Regions from separate parts of the Homo sapiens genome. Here region 2 is linked to region 1. The links are contacts of gene promoters, found by promoter capture Hi-C in human tissues and cell types (Jung and others, 2019). All regions are on one chromosome and are shown on one strand. The core of a region is centred on a gene start or on the middle of the fragment in contact, and the rest is flanking DNA. Distances in the headings are between cores, read along the strand shown.

Region 1 (3,717 bases), core at 681-3,180:
CCCTCTGCCCATCCCCACCAGCAGCAATGTTGTTGACAGTGGTGTGGTCCCTAGACACACACACGATGGATGGTGGCATATAATAGAAAATAACACCGAGTGATATTTATTGACTCAATCCCATCCACCCCCTCCATCCCTTTATGCTGCTTTCATTTCTTCACGGCTTCCTTCATCATTCCTTTTTATTTCTTCACAATTGGCGTCAACATGTGTCCCATTCATTTGTGTCCATCTGCTGACTGTCCCCCCTCACTAGCACGTAAACCCCCGTAAAGGCAGGAACCCTGTGGGCTTACTCACTGCTGCATCCTCAGCCCAGGGAGGCTGCTCAGGAGACATTTATTGAATGAAGATTTGCAGAACGAATGCACACCCCGCGCATCATGCCTGCTCCTGGGAAGCTCTATGGCAGCCTCTCGGCAGCTAGCTCAGGGCAGGGGCTGTTCAGATCAGGTTCTTGCAGAGAGGAAATGTAAGACTCCGTGGGCAGTCACCCCAGACCCCTGGGGGGTTCCTCCTGCAGGTAGAGCTCAGACGTTTCCTTCTCCCGGAACCCGAGGCCAGGCATCCTTCCCACCTCTATCATCCCTCTAGGTCCACGGGGGTGGGCGTGTCTGGGACTTGGCTGGACTGTTGCCATAGAAACAGCTGGAAGACGTGCCCACCACCACCACCACCAACTCCCACCTCTCTTCTGCATCACCTTTTCTCTCTCTTTTGAGACAGGGTCTCACTCTGTCAACTCAGGCTGGAGTGCGGTGGTGAAATCACAGCTCCCAGCAGCCTTGATCTCTGGGACTCAAGTTATCCTCCCACCTCAGCGTCCTGAGTACCTGGGACTATAGGTGCGCACGACCACGCCGGGCTAATTTTTTTTTTTTTTTTTTTTGTAAAGACACGGTTTTGCTGTGTTGGCGAGGCTGGCTGGTCTCCTGCTTGAGCAATTTGCCCACCTTGGCCTCCCAGAGTGCTGGGATTTACAGGCGTGAGCCGCCGCACCCGGACGACCCTTTCTCAGCCTGTATCTCCCTTCTGAAATAGCAGCAGCAGCAAACACTTTCATATTTCACCTGCAATATGCCAGGCACTGTTCTAAGCTCTTTACACATATTCCCTCAGTTCATCCTCCTGACCACTCAGAGATAACCATCCTTATCCCCATTTTACAGATGGGGGACTTGGGGCACAGGGAGCTTAGATAAGAGCCTGTCAGTGTCAGGCAGCTGGCAGGAGGTCCAGTCGGCAGGGGAACCACCCTGCTGTGGTTGTGGTTCAGCTGTGGACAGAGACCCTTCAAACCCGACGCCGTAACAGTGGTGTGTGTGTGCGTGTGCATGCCAGGGAGAGAGAGAGAGAGAGGGAGAGAGAGGGAGGGAGGGAGGGCACCTAAGATCCCTTGATTATCAGATCTAACTAAGGGAGAGAAATTGGCATTTCGGGGCACTGAGGACCATAGGGGTGTAAGTCAGTGGTTCTCCACGGGGGCAGCTGTGGCCTCCTCCCACCAGGGGAACATTTGGCAATGCCTGGAAACATCTTACATTGTCACAACTCGGGGGAATGTGGTGCTGCTGGCATGGAGAGGGCGCTGCTAAACATCCTACAGCGCTCAGGACAGGCGCTCACCACAAAGCAGCATCGGTCCCCGAATGTCAGTGTTGAAAAACCGTGCACTGCCTCTTCCCACTTGCCTGGTCTATAAACTCAAATTCTCAACTTCTCTCTCTCCTCCTCCCTCCCTCTCCTCCCCCTCCTCCTCCTCCCCTTCTTTTCTCCCTCCTTCCCCGTCTCCCTGACTCCTCCTTTCCCACCCACCCCTCATCTGTCTCGCTTCCTTCCCTCCCTCCGCGGTCCCCACTCCCCTCGCCACCCTCCCCTCCCCTTCGCGCGCCTCCCTCCAGCTGCCTCCCCTGCCCTCTCCTCTTCGCCGCCCCCGTTTCTTCTCCTTACATCGCGCCTCGCCTCGCTCCTCGTCCTAATGTCTGCACACCCCTCTGGTGTCTGTCGACCCTCCCAATCGCTTCTCCCGCATTCATCTCTCGCCTGATCCCGGTTCTGTCCGCCCATGCTCATTTCTCTCCCCCAGCCGTGCCCGGGCGCGTTTCCATTACTCTCCCATCGTCGCCCACCGCGCGTGGGGCGGCCAACTTGGGCCCACGCAGCTCAGCTCCCTCCGCCCTTCCTGCCTCCTGGCGCCTGTTGCTCCCCACACTCTGCCGCCCCCCGCCCGCCCTCCCCAGCCTCTCTGCCCACCCATCTCTACGTTTCTCACCCTCTGACCGTTTCTCTCCCGCCCAGCGCTCCAACCTCTGCTCTCGTTCTCCCCGCAGCCTGGCGGCCCAGTGCGACCCCCTGCAAGCCCCATGCCGGCCCTCCTGCTCCTCGTACTCCTGGCCTCTAGCGCCGGCCAGGCCAGGGCGCGCCCGTCCAACGCCACGAGCGCCGAGCCCGCGGGCCCGCTGCCCGCCCTGCTGGCGCACCTGCGGCGCCTGACCGGGGCGCTGACGGGCGGCGGGGGCGCGGCGAGCCCAGGCGCCAACGGCACCAGGACCGGCCCCGCGGGCGGGGCGGGCGCGGCGGCCCGGGCGCCCCCTCCCGCCGAGCTCTGCCACGGCTACTACGATGTCATGGGCCAGTACGACGCCACCTTCAACTGCAGCACCGGCTCCTACCGCTTCTGCTGTGGCACCTGCCACTACCGCTTCTGCTGTGAGCACCGTCACATGCGCCTGGCGCAGGCCTCCTGCTCCAACTACGACACGCCGCGCTGGGCCACCACGCCGCCGCCGCTAGCTGGGGGCGCCGGGGGCGCTGGGGGTGCGGGCGGGGGGCCAGGGCCCGGCCAGGCCGGGTGGTTGGAAGGGGGCCGGACTGGGGGTGCCGGGGGCCGCGGGGGCGAGGGCCCCGGGGGCAGCACAGCCTACGTCGTGTGCGGGGTCATCAGCTTCGCCCTGGCCGTGGGCGTCGGCGCCAAAGTGGCCTTCAGCAAGGCGTCCCGTGCGCCCCGGGCGCACCGGGATATCAACGTGCCCAGGTGCGTGTGCTCTCGGGCGGGAGGACTGCGAGCCTGGGGCGGGGCCCAGCAAGGGAGGTGGAGCCATCCGAGGAGGAGGGGCTGCAGGGATAGGGCGTGGTGGTCAGAGACCCAGGTGGCGGCCGCCGGCGTAGCTGAAGGTGGGCAGGGGCTGAGAAAGTCGCGCCAGAGCCGGCCCGGCTGTTGCGGAGTGATGCAGGGAGAGGGAGAAGCCCAGACTCTCATTCATTCGACACATATTTCTTGAGCACCTTCTGTGGGCCAGGAGCTGGGGATACACCAGTGAACAAAACAAGGTCTCTGCCCTGGTGGAAAAGCCTGACTTCCAAATCCAAGTTCACAGCCTACAGGCTATGTGACAGTGGATGAGTTGCTTAACGTCTCTGTTCCTCAGTTTCCTGTCCGCACAATGAGACTAATCATCGTCCCCACCTATTCGGATTGTAATTAACTGAGTTGATTCGTGCAGGGTCCTGGCACACGGTAAGGGCTCATTAACTATCAGTGGCCCAGTCCGTAAGCATGTGCAGTGTAATTTTAGATGACTGCTGTGAAGAAAATCAGCGGAAAGTGTTGAGAGAGAGGGCGCTGGATTAGAGGAAGTGATCCGAAAAGGCCTCTGAACGGAGACCCGAAGGGAGGGAGCGAACCACGCAGAGATCTGTGGGCGAGAGGTTTTG
Region 2 (3,717 bases), core at 453-2,952, 140 kb before region 1:
CATGGTGGCACACTCCTGTAGCCCCACCTACTCAGGAGGCTGAGGTGGGAGGATTGCTTGAGCCCGGGAGGTCGAGGCTGCAGTGAGCCGAGATCACACCACTGCACTTCCTCCAGCCAGCCTGGGCAACAGAAGGAGATCTCATCTCAAAAGAAAACAAAACAAAACAAAAAAAAACAAACAAACAAAAAAACAAGGATAGAGTGTAGTAAATTTCTGTCCTGGAAGTTAGACTATGTTGCCAGTTTCAGTTTCTTCTCTCTTGTTCCAGTTCATCTGGACACAATCCCAGAACACACACAAACCCAGAACAGGCTGCAGGCTGTACTTGACCTTCCATTTTTCTCTTCTACAGGTTATCACTTGGAGACTTACCATATATGCACACGGTGAGCTTCTTTGTTCTTTTCTATGGACACCTAGTATTCCACTGGGTGGATCAGTCATGATTTATTACTCAGCTCTCCTACAGATGGGTGTTTAGATTGGTTTCAGCTGTTTGCAGTGATGTGCAGTACTGCAATGATTAACCTGGTGCAGACATTATTTTGTGCAGTTCCGAGTAGATGCCTCTGAAGAATAAATTCCTGGAATTGCTGGCTCGGTAAGAATGTTCCAGGTTCTACTTGCCCCAGCCGTGTATGAAAGGACCTGTTTGCTCGCACTCTCATTAGCACTGTTTGGCAGGAATGTAACCTTAAACAAACAGCGTCAAGCTGTGGGTATACTCCTGCAAAATGCCTTTTCTGCTCCAGAATAGGTTTCTGAGATGTCGCCAGGTTGGTTTCATTCTGCCAATTTCAGCTGAAACATTGCTGCCTCCAGGAAGACCTCAGGAATCACCTCCTCCCAGTGTGAGCTCAGCTCAGTGCCTTCTGTTCTCTGCATTCCCATAGCAGTTCCCTGCCTCGGAGCACACGTTCCCCCACATGCACTCCAGCGTGATTGATCCGTATCTATCTGCCTTCCCCATCAGACAGTGAGCTCCGGTTTTTGCCACTGTGACTCCAGCACCAAGGACAGCACCAGCCCATAGTAGGTGCTCAGTAAACATTGGCTGCTAAGGTCCCAGTGAATATGCGTATATGTAGACAAATATATGCAGGCTGGCCCGTAGTAGATATTCAGTAAATATTGGTCGCTTAGGGTTGAATGAGTATATGCAGGGGCTTTCACAAAGGGGGAAACCGAGGCTCGAAGTGGGAGAATCCTTCACCCAGACAGCCAAGGGAAGGCTGGAGCCAGGTTCTGATCCAGAGTGCCAGTACTTCCTGAAGCCTCTGTCACTGATTCATTCATCTTCCTCCCCCGGCCACTCCCCTGGCCTGACACAGTGCCTGGCACAGACAGGACCTGATAAATGTGTATTTGTTGAAGGAATGAATGAATATGTGTGTGTGCATGTTGGGGAGCCGGGAGTAGCTGGACCCAGTGTTCCAGGCCCTCAGCACCCTCCGCCCTCTGGGAGCCCGGGGGACAGGCCCCCAGCCCCCTCCCCTCACAGGACCCTGTAGTGCAAGCTGCCTTCCCTCCCCTCTCCAGGTCCCCCGTCCTCCCGCTTCCGGCTTCCCAGCCAGTCTTTCCTCTTTCAGGCTCCGAGGAAAGGCCAGGTTTCCGGGGGGAAGGCTTAGGCAGTGACACCGAGCCCAGCCTCCTCCTCCACCCCCCACCACGCTCAGGCCCCCCTCCCTCCCCGCCACCACCGTCCGCGTTTGGCCGGCCGTGGGGAAGGAAGAAAGGAGCCAAGGAGGCGAGGTAAGAACCCAGCCCCAGCGACCAGGACCAAGCCCCAGGCCCAGGGCTGAGAAATCCTCAAGGCCTCGACCCGGCCCCAATTCTGCTGATCATGCCTTCGGGGAGCTGCAGGCTTGGCCCGGAGGAGATCGGCCCCCCTCTAGGACCTGGGACCCCCGACCCCCACCAGCCTCCCTCCCGAGTCCAGGGGTCCGGCCCTCAGTCGCCTCCTCCCTGGGGATTCCCGGCAGCTGGGTCCCCAGCCCCCGCCTCCCCCTTGTCCTGGGAGCCCAGCCCCCTCCCCAGCCCCTCCTCCACCGGGACCCAGGAATCCACACCTCCTCCATACCAGAGTCCAGATTCCCCAATCCGTCATGACCTGGACCCAGGAGTCTCAATCCCCAGCTCCCATCCCCATCAGTCCCAAGAGTCTGGGCCCCTAGCCCCCTCCCAACTCAGACCAGAAGTCTGAACCCTCCTACTCCCCGACCTCTCCCAGCCCCTGGCATCTGAGAACACACTCTATTTCCGGGGCCTACCGGCTTCAAATCCCACCCCCTCCACTCAGGCCCCATGGGCTGTGTCCCAGCCCCTCCCAAAACGTTCAGCCTGGCCGGGGGACCTGGAGCAGAAGCGGTTCGCTGACTTTGTCCCCCTCCGTGCCTCTGCCCAGTTCACTCCCTCTGTGTCTCTGTCTCCCTGTCTCTCCGGCCCCCAACCCGCCACTGCTCTTCTGATCTCTGCTCTTGCACTATCTCTGCCTCTGGTTCTCCAAGTCTCTTTGTTTCCTCTTCTCTGTGTCTCTGTCTCTCTGCTGGGTGTTCCTCACTCTCCTCTGTCTCTTCTCTGCTCTGCCTTTCACCATCCTGTCTTTCTGCGACTCCTGGTCTCTGTCTGTCCATCCCCACTTCTCTGTGTCTCCCATCTCTGCCTTCTCCTGTCTCTATTCCCTGCTCTGTCGCTCTGTCTCTGATCTCTCTCCTCCTGTCTCTCCATCTCTGGCCTCCCCTCGGTGTCTCTCATCTTTGTCTCTGTCTCATATCTCTCTCCTGGCTAAATACCTGACCCTCTCTGCCTCTCCATCTCTGACTGTCTCTGCTTCTCTTTCTGCCACACCCCACGCACCTCTTTTTATCTCTGCCCCGCTTCCCATCTCTCCCCTCTCTCCCCACAGGCATGGATCCGCAGCCTCCTCCACCCGCCCAGGGCAGCCCACCTCACCGTGGCCGAGGCCGGGGCCGTGGCCGAGGCCGTGGTCGGGGCCGTGGCCGTGGCAGGGGGGGCGCTGGAGCCCCTAGGGCGCCCCTGCCCTGCCCCACCTGCGGCCGCCTCTTCCGTTTCCCCTACTACCTCTCCCGGCACCGGCTGAGCCACTCGGGGCTCCGGCCCCACGCCTGCCCGCTGTGCCCCAAGGCCTTCCGCCGGCCGGCCCACCTTTCCCGCCACCTGCGCGGCCACGGGCCCCAGCCCCCGCTGCGCTGCGCCGCCTGCCCCCGCACCTTCCCAGAACCGGCCCAGCTCAGGCGCCACCTGGCTCAGGAGCACGCGGGCGGCGAGGTCGAGCTGGCCATCGAGAGGGTGGCCAAGGAGACGGCCGAACCCAGCTGGGGCCCGCAGGACGAGGGCTCGGAGCCGCCCACCACCGCTGCAGCAGGGGCCACGGAGGAGGAGGCGGTCGCAGCGTGGCCTGAGACGTGGCCTGCGGGGGAGCCTTCCACGCTGGCTGCGCCCACCAGCGCCGCGGAGCCCCGGGAGTCGGAGTCGGAGGAGGCCGAGGCCGGGGCAGCAGAGCTGAGGGCCGAGCTGGCGCTGGCGGCCGGGCGGCAGGAGGAGAAACAGGTCCTGCTCCAGGCAGACTGGACGCTGCTGTGTCTGCGCTGCCGCGAAGCCTTCGCCACCAAGGGCGAGCTCAAGGCGCACCCGTGTCTGCGCCCCGAGGGCGAACAGGAAGGGGAAGGGGGGCCCCCGCCACGCCCCAAGCGA

What was found. The method cuts DNA at HindIII sites, captures the fragments that hold promoters and counts their contacts. A contact is called where the count stands out against the background at its distance.
Region 2: the fragment with the promoter of ZNF579 here is called in contact with the fragment with the promoter of SHISA7 in region 1 in 3 of the 25 tissues and cell types used here (heart right ventricle, psoas muscle and spleen).

What each region holds. Positions count from the first base shown.
Region 1 is chr19:55,441,513-55,445,229 of GRCh38, reverse strand. It overlaps SHISA7 (shisa family member 7), which reads left to right and starts at 1,930. Exons shown (of 4, transcript NM_001145176.2): 1 at 1,930-3,037. The coding sequence starts at 2,367. RefSeq lists a silencer at 3,027-3,116 and an enhancer at 2,610-3,238. The HindIII fragment of the contact is 24,914 bases long and covers 1-3,717 here.
Region 2 is chr19:55,578,833-55,582,549 of GRCh38, reverse strand. It overlaps ZNF579 (zinc finger protein 579), which reads left to right and starts at 1,702. Exons shown (of 2, transcript NM_152600.3): 1 at 1,702-1,755; 2 at 2,909-3,717. The coding sequence starts at 2,911. RefSeq lists silencers at 353-647, 1,359-1,498. The HindIII fragment of the contact is 17,237 bases long and covers 1-3,717 here.